Linked DNA regions of Homo sapiens: regions 1, 3 and 4 are each linked to region 2. Evidence: promoter capture Hi-C in 16 types of primary human blood cells and fetal thymus (Javierre and others, 2016). All regions are on one chromosome and are shown on one strand. Each heading gives the region's core, a stretch centred on a gene start or on the middle of the fragment in contact. The rest is flanking DNA. Distances are from core to core; before and after follow the strand shown. Region 1 has its middle 4.3 kb from the start of MIR3529. Region 2 holds the start of HAPLN3 (hyaluronan and proteoglycan link protein 3). Region 3 overlaps LINC01586 (long intergenic non-protein coding RNA 1586). Region 4 overlaps ABHD2 (abhydrolase domain containing 2, acylglycerol lipase).

What was found. The method cuts DNA at HindIII sites, captures the fragments that hold promoters and counts their contacts. A CHiCAGO score of 5 or more calls a contact.
Region 1: a contact is called between a fragment that was not itself captured here and the fragment with the promoter of HAPLN3 in region 2, in 5 of 17 cell types (total CD8 T cells, naive CD8 T cells, naive CD4 T cells and 2 more). The highest score is 9.3, in total CD8 T cells.
Region 3: a fragment that was not itself captured here is called in contact with the fragment with the promoter of HAPLN3 in region 2 in 9 of 17 cell types (naive CD8 T cells, total CD8 T cells, naive B cells and 6 more); the score reaches 10.7 in naive CD8 T cells.
Region 4: a contact is called between a fragment that was not itself captured here and the fragment with the promoter of HAPLN3 in region 2, in 1 of 17 cell types (naive CD8 T cells). The highest score is 6.4, in naive CD8 T cells.

The regions. Positions count from the first base shown.
Region 1 is chr15:88,614,572-88,617,800 of GRCh38, reverse strand. It overlaps a transcript of AEN not described here. Among named protein-coding and RNA genes, the nearest start is that of MIR3529, 4.3 kb to the right of the region's middle. The HindIII fragment of the contact is 3,159 bases long and covers 1-3,089 here.
Region 2 is chr15:88,894,107-88,897,383 of GRCh38, reverse strand. HAPLN3 (hyaluronan and proteoglycan link protein 3) reads left to right here and starts at 1,840. Exons shown (of 5, transcript NM_178232.4): 1 at 1,840-1,925. RefSeq lists enhancers at 1-6, 2,003-2,614. The HindIII fragment of the contact is 19,838 bases long and covers 1-3,277 here.
Region 3 is chr15:88,598,249-88,601,545 of GRCh38, reverse strand. The region is part of intron 2 of LINC01586 (long intergenic non-protein coding RNA 1586); the gene reads left to right. Among named protein-coding and RNA genes, the nearest start is that of LINC01586, 5.2 kb to the left of the region's middle. The HindIII fragment of the contact is 579 bases long and covers 1,006-1,584 here.
Region 4 is chr15:89,156,973-89,160,123 of GRCh38, reverse strand. The region is part of intron 5 of ABHD2 (abhydrolase domain containing 2, acylglycerol lipase); the gene reads right to left. Among named protein-coding and RNA genes, the nearest start is that of RLBP1, 63 kb to the left of the region's middle. The HindIII fragment of the contact is 5,010 bases long and covers 1-3,151 here.

The DNA of each region.
Region 1 (3,229 bases), core at 261-2,760, 280 kb after region 2:
ATGAGGCAAATGGGAATTGGGGCTATCTGTATCCGGTCTAGTAACAGGGTATAGTGGGGAATCGCCATAGAGGGGAATCCATGAGTTTTATCTCAGTCATTGCAGTGAGCCATTTCCAGAACCCGAGAGACGGGGTTGAGGTGGGGTTAGGGGGTAAGGGGTTAATCATTGCTGTTCTCTAGGAGCACAGTGCTTAGGTAAAACTCAACATTGTCATAAATAGTTTTTTCATGTACTTTAAAAATGAAGGCCGGGCGCTGTGGCTCACGCCTGTAATTCCAACACTTTGGGAGGCCAAGGCGGGTGAATCACCTGAGGTCTCAAGTTTGAGACCAGCCTGGCCAACATGGTGAAATCCTGTCTCTACTAAAACACAAAAATTACCTAGGTATGGTCGTGGGCACCTATAATCCCAGCTACTCAGGAGGCTGAGGCATGAGAATCTCCTGCACCCCGGAGATAGAGGTTGCAGCGAGCCAAGATTGCACCACTGCCCTCCAGCCTGGGCAACAGTGCAAGACTCTGTCTCAATAAATAAATAAAGAAGCTAGGCAAGGTGGCACATGCCTGTAGTCCCAGCTACTTTGGAGGCTGAGGTGGGAGGATCACTTGAGAAGGGCAGGAGTTTGAGACCACAGTGCACTATGATTGTGTTACCCTCCAGCCTGGGCAACATAGTGAGACCCCACCTCTACAAAAAATAAATAAATGAAAATGAATAATATTTGTATCAAATCATTATGATATTTAGACTCCATTGCGTTCATTTAATGACGTCTTTTTAAGATGTCCATATTAACAGATGCTCTGTGACTTAACAATGAGGCCATGTCCGGATAAACCCACTATAATTCACAAGTTGAAAATGCACTTAATACATCTAACCTACCAAACGTCTATAGCTTAGCCTGACATACCTTAGATGTACTTACAACATTTACATTGGCCTACAGTTGGGCAAAATCATCTAACACAAATGTTATAATAAAGTACTGAACATGTCACATAATTTATTCACGACTGTACTGAAAATAAAAAACAGAATGTATGGACACTTGAAGTAAGGTTTCTACTAAATGTGTATTGCTTTTGCACTATTGTAAAGTTGAAAAATGTTAAATTGAGCCATTGTAGGTCAGGGACCATCTATACTTACATTTATCATAAAAAAATTGCTAAGTAAAAAAACTTGATGTCCCAGGTATTCAGTAAGGGTGGTCTCACACTGTCATCTTGACTGTGGATGGTAATACCCATACCCCTTCTTTCTTAGGGAAACCACTAAACTCACCCTCCAACTTCTGCTAGCTGTGTGACTTTTGGCAAGGCTCTTGACCTTGCTGAACCAAGTCAGCCCTTCCCTTCTACCCAGAGGCTGCCCCTGGATTGAATAAAAATATTCCCTCCTAGGCCAGGTGCGGTGGCTCACGCCTGTAATCCCAACACTTTGGGAAGCAGAGGCTGGTGGATCACAAGTTCAGAAGTTGAAGACCACCCTGACCAACACGGTGAAACTCCATCTCTACTAAAAATACAAAAATTAGACGGGCATGGTGACACTTGCCTGTAATCCTAGCTACTCAGAAGGCTGAGGAAGGAGAATCATTTGAACCCGGGAGGCAGAGGTTGCAGTGAGCCGAGATGGCGCCACTGCACTTCAGCCTGGATGACAGAGCAAGGCTCCATCTTGAAGAAAAAAAAACAAAAAACGCCTCCTTCCACAAAGACGAGGGCTCCTTTATAACAGAGCTTGTTTAGGCTGGGGCCTGGTGGGGAAAAACCCATGATCCAAGCTCTGACTTCAAGGACCCCATCATTTCCCCCTCCGCATTTTCAATCTGAAAACACTTGAGACAGGACTTGACCTGTTTTGCATTTACAAATCATTATGCTACAGTCAGAGTGCCATTCTGCCTGCCCTGTGTACTCATTCTGAGGACTTTTTGGGGGTACTGTGGGGATCCCCATGGTGCTGGGCCAGGTGCAGACTTGAAAGAGAGTGTTGATCTGCTCAATTTTTAGAGCAATTGTTCTCCACGTGTCGTCCTAGCCCAGCAGCATGGGCATTTACCTGGGAGTTTGTTGGACCTACTGAATCAGAAAATCAGGCTGTGGGGCCCAGAAAGTCAGGGGATGAGGCCCAGAAAGTCAAGGGGTAGGATTAAGAAAATTAGGGGGTGGGGCCCAGCATTTTAACAAGCTGATGAAATAGCTAATCCTGAGGCATGCCGAAGTTTAGGATCCATTGTGTTGGAGAGTATGAAGCTGACGACATTCCCAGTGCTAAATGTGAATAAGGTACTTGTTTTATGCACGCAGCTCCCCGCCTCTTAGCTCTCTTGATCCAGCAGCAGCTGGACTTTGGACCTACCAGGACACAGCCTGGCACCAAGACAATTAAGGTACCTTTGTACCCTCCCCCAACTCCTGAGAATGTCCGGGATTCTCAGGCCCAGGCTAAGTGTCACACGGCTAATTTTTTAATGGAAGACTGGAGGGATTTGATCGAGGGGAGTTTTATTCTCTGCCGTTCCTTGCTCCATTCTAGACTAGAGTTCCCTCACATATAAAATTAATCCTTCATTCAGTGGTCCCCAGCCTTGACTCAACATGCTGAACTTGAAAAAACACAGACGAGGCCGGGCGCGGTGGCTCACGCCTGTAATCCCAGCACTTTGGGAGGCCGAGGTGGGCGGATCACGAGGTCAGCAGATCGAGACCATCTGGCTAGCACAGTGAAACCCTTTCTCTACTAAAAATACAAAAAAATTTGGCCGGGCGTGGTGGCGGGCGCCTGTAGTCCCAGCTGTTCGGGAGGCTGAGGCGGTAGAATGGCGTGAACCCGAGATCGCGCCACTGCACTCCAGCCTGGGCGACAGAGCGAGACTCCATCTCACAAAACAAAACAAAACAACAACAACAACAACAACAAAAAAGCACCACAGACGCTTGGGTCACACCCCACCCCAAGATTCTGATTTAACTGGTCTGGGGTGGGGCCTGAACAGGAAGGTTTTTAAATCTCCCCAGGTGTTAGTAGTTTGTCGCTGAGACTGACAATTGCCGCTAAAGTGGAGTTACCTAAAGCTTCCAGCAGAGGACGCTGCCTCTCTGCTCATCCAGGGAAACGTGAGCCGGGAAACCTGACAGCTGCAGTTGCGATGGGTGGGGCTGGAAATCAGGCTGTTTCGTAAACCCGGTTGATGCAGTTAAGGCGACGGGCCAGATG
Region 2 (3,277 bases), core at 591-3,090:
CCGTGGTCTTCGTAGGAACTGAGGATGGGGGACTCCCTTCCCCTGGGTGTCCCTTGGCCTACTGCCTCCCGTTTCAGAGCTCTCTTCTGCGGAGCGGTGTGGATTGGGTTTAGAGCCAAGCCTTTCTGCGTGCTTCCAAGCCTCAGGTCTCCCTCCCGGGGGAGTTTCCTGCCCTGAACCCCTGTTCCAGCATACCCTGGGGATAAGCAGACAGTGGGAGAAGCATCTCTGCTCTGGGATGGGTTGGCCACAGCCTTCTAAAAGTCCCCCTCCTGGGACCCTGGAGTGGAGTCCCCTCACTCCTGACCCCCTCCTTCCTTCCTTGGCTTCTCTCCCTCAGCAGTGTCTTCCATTTGCCCAGCTTTTACCATCACCCCTACACATTGACTTTTTTCTGCCCCACTGCAAGGCAGAGGGTGAGCGTTCAGATTCCACCTGCTGGCTACCCCTACCCCTGGCTGGCATGTTCAACTCGACTTAACTGTAGCAAAATGTGCTCTCCCTACTGTCCATCCTCTCCCCTGTCGGGAACCTGCAGAGGGACCTACCTTGGCTCCCCTTTGCCCATCAAGCCTGGCGTTCCTTTTAGGTGTAGTTTACCTGTTGATCACAGTTCTTTGTGCTCCAATGTGCCCCTGGCTGTGTGTAACACACACACATGCACACACACACACACACTCATGGGCCAACTTGAGCTGTGTTTAGGAAGAGGCTCTGAGCTCTGTGACCCTGTGACCCTTCGACCCTTCCCCCAGCCAAAGCTGAAGGACCTCCTTAGTCTTTTCTGCTGAGGAAACATCGGGCTGTCCAGGCCAGGGCCCCCATTGGTCTGGACAGGAAAGAAAACACCCTGTCCAAACAGAGGCATCCTGAGCGGCTGCCTGGATGGCTGTGCTGATTAGCAGGATTCCGAAGGGAGGCCCACCCCTGTTGGAGGACCACTCAGAAGCCTGATTGCCCCTGCAGGCTGCAGAGGTATCCCACCCTGTGTCTCCCCTCCCAGCCAGGGCCACTCATTCAAGCCCCATGTGCTGGGGATAGCACCTGCTATGTGCCTGACAGTGAGTTGGGAATCTGGCCAGTGTTTCATGATGGCCAAACTCAGGGGCATGAGGACATCAGCAACCCCTTGCTTTTTTTTTTTTTTTTTTTTTGAGACGGAGTTTTGCTCTTGTTGCCCAGGCTGGAGCACAATGGCATGATCTCAGCTCACTGCAACCTCCGCCTCCTGGGTTCAAGCAATTCTCCTGCCTCAGCCTCCCAAGTAGCTGGGATTACAGGCATGCTCCACCACGCCCAGCTAATTTTGTATTTTTAGTAGGGACAGGGTTTCACCATGTTGCCCAGGCTGGTCTTGAACTCCTGACCTCAGGTGATCCACCGGCCTCCACCTCCCAAAGTGCTGGGGTTACAAGCATGAGCCACTCACTGCACCTGGCCTCACCCCCTTGCTTTCTATTTGGAAAAGAAAGTAATACAGAAGTCTCACCCCTTCCACAATCAAAGGTGGGGAGCAGCCTTAGCCCCTAGCAGAATGCTGGACAGGGGCTTCCCCTGCTTACTCCCACTGTTTTTGGTATACCAGGCTTTCTAAGGGGATCCCCCCTCCCCAAACTCTCCTATTCCACCCCTACTCTCCTTTCCCAAGACGTGAGGGCCTCAACTCTTGCACACCCTCTTTGCGGTGGTTCCCAGCGAGTCTGGAGACCGCTCAAGCCTGCAGCAGCTCCTCCCTTCGAGCCCAGCCCTTGGGAGGGAAAGGTGCGCGTGTTCCTTTAAGGGGCTGGTCTGGCGGGAGCGCGGGGGTTTTTCTGCTGCCGCTTCCTTTCTGCCCTTTTAATTTCCCCGAAATCAGACTGCTGCCTTGGACCGGGACAGCTCGCGGCCCCCGAGAGCTCTAGCCGTCGAGGAGCTGCCTGGGGACGGTACGTGGCTTAGGGGTCGCTGGGCTTCTGGGGCTGTGTGCGGGCCGGGTTCCTCCCTTACCGCTTTGGGTGCCCTGCGGGTCCCCACACCTCCCGGGCAGGGTCCGGGGAAGGGGCAGGAGGCGTGGGCCGGGCACTGCGGAGGCCCGGGCTGAGATGGGCTGTGATCGCGGGCGAGGGGCGCCCGGGGCACAAGTGGGGAGGGAGCGGCGCGGGGATGCGGGCGCCGGACCCTCGTGCCCACCGTGAGGGAGCAGAGCCCGAGCGGACCCCGTGGCCTCCGAGACCACCGTCCGCCTCCAGCCCCCTTCCTGCCAGGGTCCGCTTGGCTCTCTCCCCTGTCGTCTGTCCAGGGTCGGCTGCCTCCAGTGCCGTCCGCGGCGCCCCAGGCCCTGCCCCTGGGTATCTGTTGGATGCTCCGGGGGCCCCGGGAGTCCTGGGAGGGGCTGAGGGCAACCTGCGAGGCGGCTGGCGGACCTGCGCCTCTGGACCGCAGCTGGCCGGCTCTGGGCGCCTGGGGCAAAGGCAACTGATGCCTATGGGTTCCAGACCTCGCTCACCGGGGTTCTTGCCCCAGGGACAGCGAGGCCAGAAGGGTAGGGAGGGTGGAGGGCAGAGCCCTGGGTGGGAGATGGCGACCCTCAGGGAGAAACGTAGGCTTGTGCGCAGCCAGTATGGAAACAGCACGGCACTTGGACCCAGTCCTGCCACCAGCTCGTTGGCAGCCACAGGCCACAGGCAGCCTGTAAACCTGTTGGGACCTTGGTGTCCAGCGCTGACCCGCGGGAGTGCCTGTGCTCCCTGGAGTAGGGGGCAGCGATTGAGAGGGGCCCTGGCTTCTCTCCCTCGACGCCGCCCGGGCCAGCGGATTGGGAAACACCTCCGGTTTTCATTCTCCTGGGGGCTGCAGGTTTCAAAGGCGGAGATCAAGCCTTGTGCAAACAGGGACAGGGATGTCAAATTTCTCGCTGGGAGCAGCGCTCGTGCAGACCTCGCGGGCGATGCTGCCTCCTGCTGGTACCTGGGGGACTTGTACTCACGGAAGGCCCAGTGCGGACATGCACCTGGCAGGGAGGTGGCACCTACCCTCCCTCCAAGCCCAGGCTTATTGTTCTTGGGTGGAGGGGTCCCTAGGCTGGGGCGCCTGGGAAAAGCAAAGGGCTGGTCATCAGGAAACCTGAACTTTCTCTAAGTTCGAGATATTTGACAAAGATAACGCCTTGGGTAGTTCACTGACCTCCACTCTCTTGGCCTCAGTTTCCTCAACTGTGAAGAGGAGGCAGTGGTGACCACTTTGTCTCGTAGGCAGTGAGAGAGGAGAAAGAGCCACTGAGATGGTGTAAGACTTCACT
Region 3 (3,297 bases), core at 46-2,545, 300 kb after region 2:
GACCAGTTTTTCTTTGGGATATCTTAATAAAATAATCTTGGGCTGCTGCAGTGGCTCACGCCTGTAATCACAGCACTTTGGAAGGCCGAGACAGATGGATCACCTGAGGTCGGGAGTTCAAGACCAGCCTGACCAACATGGAGAAACCCCGTCTCTACTAAAAATACAAAATTAGCAGGGCGTGGTGGCACATGCCTGTAATCCCAGCTACTTGGGAGGCTGAGGCAGGAGAATCACTTGAACCCGAGAGGCAGAGGTTGCAGTGAGCCAAGATGGCACCATTGTACTCCAGCCTGGGCAACAAGAGGGAAACTCTGTCTCAAATAAATAAAATAATATTCAATACAGAAAATGTTAGATACATAAAGGTGTCCATTGTCACATTGTTTAATATTTTTTAAAATGGAAGCAACATAATATCCAACAATAGGAGACTGGCACATCATCTGTTGAATGGATAGAATATTCTACCAACTCTAAAATTAATGTTTTTGCTGAAACATGAGCCAAGAAAATACTCATAATGTTAAGGAAGGAAATTAGCAGAACATAGAACTGTCTTTACAGATATCATTAAAGTAAGGTCTTTAGAAAGCACATATATAGAAAAAATAGAACAGAAGTACATCAAAGTATGATAAAGTTTCTGTTAAAGAGATCACAGGTGGCTTTTAAATGTTTTCTTTTTATCATGTTTTCCAAATTTTCTGAAACATGATTAGGTAGTTTCTATAATTAAAATATAGTATGATACAAATATGGGAGTAGATGGTATTTATTAGGCATCTATTCCTTATCTGGCACTGTTCCAGATGGGCATAATCAGAGCAGGTGTGGAGCCTGGGTCTCAGACCTGTGCAGGTTGCTGCAGATCTTGCCTGGGGTATTAGGTGACCATGAGAGAGTTTGACCTTATCTGTAAAGAGCTGATAAGAGGCATTTGGTTTTTACTCAACTCAGATACATCATCAGCCCAGCTGCCCTTGTCCTCCTCCTCAATAAGCTTGCTTCTGTTCCTGGTATCTACTTTCTGGCCACTTCCTTCCACACCTCAAATAATAATCAAAACAATAATAATATTTCTTTTACATTTTTAATAGTACTTCACATTTTTCAATGCTCTCCAACACAATGTTTTACATAACTTTATAGCAACTACTACCAAAAAACCCCCCTTAAATTTAATTATCACAGCTCTGTGAGATAGGTGTTATTTTCTCCAGGTTTGTTTATTCTTTAGGTGCCGTGCCAGAAGCCACACAGCTGATAAGTGGTGGATCCATCTTGAATTTGACTTCTAGACACTCCCTTTTCATAGGACAGTGGGAGTTTAATCATGGACAACAATTCTTCTTCAGATTAGAACTTAATTGGAGGACAGATTGGCAGCTCAGCCGACCTTACTGTCATCGCCATTAGCCAAATAAAGATAAACCTTGACACTGCCAGTTTCCTCAATATTCTCATGCATTCATTTCTTGGAATTGACAAACCATGGACCAGAGGTCAAAAGATTCTGTGAGGGTCAGGCATCTTGGAGACATTACTGAGTTTCTAGATGGGTTGACATTTTAGAATGAAGCTTTTCTGGAAAGGAGACTGGATTACAGGTGCTAAAAGACTTGCTTGCTATGGATGGCTAAGGAGGCACCTGTCTTGTGCCAACAACCACACACCTCAAATGTGGAATTAGAGAACAGTGTAGTGAATGAAGTCATCACACTCACCTCCCACACACGTCGGGCATTCTAAGAAACCTTGGATCTCTCATCTTTCATCCCAATTGTGTAGCAAATATTTCTAAACCTTTGCCAGATTACCAAGAGAGTTTTAAAATTTAATTTCAAGGACCAACCAAGTACCTGATGGATTTTGTCATATCTGAAGACCAGAGAAGGCTGTTCTTGAAAAAGAAAACATAATTTTGGCAATAGTGAATATATAGTGACACCAGTTCAGAAAGAAGTTCTTTTAGAATTTTGACTCTGCTTACCTCTAGGAAATTAAAATCCAATAATAGAGAATTATAAATATCTTGGTTACTGTGATACTTTTAATGGCCAAAGTAACCCGGGCAATTCTATAAGTGACACAGAGCTATTCTTTTTTTTTTTTTTTTGAGACAGAGTCTCGCTCTGTCCTCCAGGCTGGAGTGCAGTGGCACGATCTCGGCTCACTGCCAGCTCCGCCTCCCGGGTTCATGCCATTCTCCTGCCTCAGCCTCCCGAATAGCTGGGACTACAGGCGCCCGCCACCATGCCCGGCTAATTTTTTTTTGTATTTTTAGTAGAGACGGGGTTTCACCATGTTAGCCAGGATGGTCTTGATCTCCTGCCCTTGTGATCCACCTGCCTCGGCCTCCCACAGTGCTGGTATTACAGGCGTGAGCCACCGCGCCCGGCCTTTAAAGTTAGAAAGGAGGTGATTCTATGTTTGTAGACCCAGGTTTATATACCACCATTCACAATAGCCAAAAGATGGAGGCCAGGTACGACAGCTCACACCTCTAATCTCAGCACTTTGGGAGGCCCAGGCAGGCAGATTGCTTGAGCCCAGGAGTTTGAGACCAGCCTGGGCAACATGGAGGAACCCTGCCTCTACCAAAAAAATATAAAAATTAGCTGGGTGTGGTGGGATGTGCCTGTAGTCCCAGCTACTTAGGAGGCTGAGGTGGGAGGATCACTTGAATCTAGGAGGCAGAGGTTGCAGTGAGCCAAGATGATGTCACTGTGCTCCAGCCTGGGCAACAGAGTGAGACCCTGACAAAATATAAATAAATAAAATATATAAATAAATAAATAAATAGAAAGAAGGGAAGAAAGAAAGGAAGGAAGAAAGAAAGAAAGGAAGGAAAGAAAGAGAGAAAGAAAAAAGAGGGCAGCAGCTCAAGTGTCTACTGATGGCTGAATGAATAAGCAAAATGTGGTATGCATATATAATGGAATATTACTCAGCCTTATAAAGGAAGGAAATTCTGACACAGGTAAAAATAAGAATGAACATTGTGGACATTATGCTAACTGAAATAAGCCAGTCACAAAAAGACAAATGCTGTATGATTCCAGTCTTATGAGATATCGACTATCTCATTTAATATTTCCTAATAAGAAACAATAGATGAATTGTTACTGGTTTTCACTAGCTAAAATTAAGATCAAGATGACATCTTCAAAATGCTGCTGTGAAATGTCAACACAGAACTCCGTACCTAATTGAACTACTATTCAGAGTGAATTTGAAATATAGACTATTTTAAATGACCTAAAACTATAGGAAGTTCAACACTCTTTTTCATTG
Region 4 (3,151 bases), core at 609-3,108, 260 kb before region 2:
TAAACTAAAATTACATCAATAGCACCTAACGAAACACTAGCGCTTTCTCTCTCTAGGCTCTTTGAAGCTACGAAAGATGTTTTAATTTTTACATTTCAACAAAGCATCCAAATTCTGGATTTCTGACCTTTTTAAGGTCCTATTTGTTTGAGCTTATCCTCCAATGGTTAAAAGAAATTATTAACAAGTAAAACATGTACTGATACACACAAAAAAACAAATAGTATGGCTAGAAGAAGACACCCATTTTTTTTCTAGGTCACCTGTCTTTCTAGAACATTTCTAAAGTATAATAAACTACAGAAATTTACTTCTAAAATTCTGATGAAATAAAATGTAACAACACCATCCACAAATTGAAGGAGATAGTTAATTTTCAAAATTGGGGGCCTGAAGCTCTCCCCTGATGGATTCACCTCATCTCCAAGGGTTTTTCATGCTCACAGGCAGCTCCTCAGTCCAAACATACAGTGCTCTTAAGGCAGCTGTGAATGCTGCTCTTCTGCATGGGTTGCCCTTCCATAGCGCACTCCCCTGTCTACAAACTCCAACTGTTCATGAGTGCCTCTGTTTAGGAGCTCATCTTTGAGAACCCAGCTCAAATGCCTTTCCTGGGAGAATTCTTCCTCCCACAACTTGACTCCTCGCCCATAGATCGAGGCTGGTTTCTCCATGCTGCTGCAGCACATTCACCAGGCCCGCTGTGTTAGTCCACTCATCACACTGTATTGTAATTCCTTTTTTTTTGAGATGGAGTCTCGCTCTGTTGCCCAGGCTGAAGTGCAGTGGTGTGATCTCGGCTCACTGCAACCTCCGCCTCCTGGGTTCAAGTGATTCTCCTGCCTCAGGCTCCCAAGTAGCTGGGATTACAGGTGCCTGCCACCATGCCTGGCTAATTTTTGTGTTTGTAGTAGACACAGGGTTTCACCATGTTGGCCAGGCTGCTCTCAAACTCCTGACCTCAGGTAATCTGTCCACCTCAGCCTCCCAAAGTGCTGGGATTACAGGCATGAGCCACCGTGCCCGGCGTTGTATTGTAATTCTTTAACGACACTCACATCTCCCTGGCAGAACACATCTTATTTATCTGGGTCACAAACAGCACGGTTAATCTCTCACCAACATGAATATACCTTCAAGTATTTGAATAAGAATAAACCTGGCTGGCACGGTGGCTCACATCTGTAATCCCAGCACTTTGGGAGGGCGAAGTGGGTGGATCACTTGAGCTCAGGAGTTCGAGACCAGCCTGGACAACATAGTGAGACCTTGTCTCTACAAAAAATTAAAAAATGAGGTGGGAAGCTGGCTTGAGTCTGGGAGGTTGAGGCTTCAATGAGCCATGATTGCACTACTTCACTCCCTCCTGGGTGACAGAGTGAGACTCTGCCTCAAAAAAACAAAACAAAACAAAACAAAAAGAATGAACCTAACATACAATAAATGTTTACTATATGTAATCAACTGCCTACCAAGTCCTCAGTAACCCACATTTAATTGTAGCTCCACCTTACTGCAGCTGAAGAATCTGGAACTGAGTTTAAGAAACTGCTCGAGCCACACAGCATCAGTGGCAGTGCTGGGGCATCGGATCCAGAGCCTGTCTCCTGACCCAGGTACTCTCTGGGAGCAAGGCCTGCACTTAACCTATTCTTCTCTGCTCTTCAGCTGCTGGTCTCCCCTGACCTGGTGTGGTAACGCCTTCCAATCTGGTCTCTTTGGCCTACAGCCCCAACAGTACAGCACTCTGGAGCTGGGAGGCCTAGACTATACAGACCCAGTTACTCTGCTATCTCTGAGATGATTCCGGCAGCCAGATCCAGGCTCCTCTCTTAGCTCTTCTACTTACTGGCTCTGTGCCCTTGCCCAAATCACTTAACCTCTCTATGCCTCAGTTTTTTCATCAGAATTTTACGGTCCCATGGGTTGCTGTGGAGATAAAAGAGATTGTGCCTACATGTGACATCAGTACTGTGTCTGGTGCACATTAAGTGTTCCCACTGGCACACAGTAAGTGTTCACACTGTACTGTTAGTGCTCCCAAATCTCCATCCTGGCCCTGCAGCCAAGCCATGCCTCCCCATCTTCTACTTGTATAGACAATCTATATATCCAAGCACAGGACATTACCATTATTCCCCATTGTTTTCTTTGTGTTTGATTTGGCCTATTTCTGACTTTTGGGTCCAATTCTGTCTCCCACATACTCACTATTCACCCTGTGCCTGTGCTATCTGTAAATCTGGACATTCACCTATTTATTTATTTTTTTTAATTTTTTGAGATGGAGTCTCACTCTGTCACCAAGGCTGGAGTGCAGTGGCGCGATCTCAGCTCACTGCAAGCTCCACCTCCCAGGTTCACGCCATTCTCCTGCCTCAGCCTCCCGAGTAGCTGGGACTACAGGTGCCCGCCACCACGCCCGGCTACTTTTTCGTATTTTTAGTAGAGATGGGGTTTCACCATGTTAGCCAGGATGGTCTCCATCTCCTGACCTCGTGATCTGCCTGCCTTGGCCTCCCAAAGTGCTGGGATTACAGGCTTGAGCTACTGCGCTCGGCCAAATTCACCTATATTTTCAAGCTACTGACCAAACTGCTGAACAGAACGGAGTCTGTAAAATGGGTATCTTCAGCTGTGGGTGTGAATACAGAAGAGGAAATGAACTCAGGGCACCCAACACCCTGCTTGGCACAAAGCAGGTATACCTGTTCATGCTTCCATACCTGTGACCTTCCCTTACCTGCCCTTATAGGAGACAGTGCCCTTGCATGTTACCAGTGGCAACGTAATTGGAATGACCTTGCTGGAGGTCAATCTGACAAGATGTACAAATATGCATAAAAAAATGTTGACTCTGCAATTTTACTGGGCATTTACTCCAAGGTCATTCAAGAGAAAATAATTCTATGTACAAGACACAGTATTTACAGCATTGTTATTTAAAATGCTGAAAAACTTTAAATAATTCATATGTCCTACAAAGATAAATGGTTAAATAAACTATAACAGAGTAGTAACAGCAATGTGGCTCTTAAACAGATTAAACATCTTTATGTTGGTGAATATAGAGTTATTTAAATAAATCACCATAGATATACATGCTATGACTGCAATAAATAAAAACTATGTAGACATTGATAAAGACAGA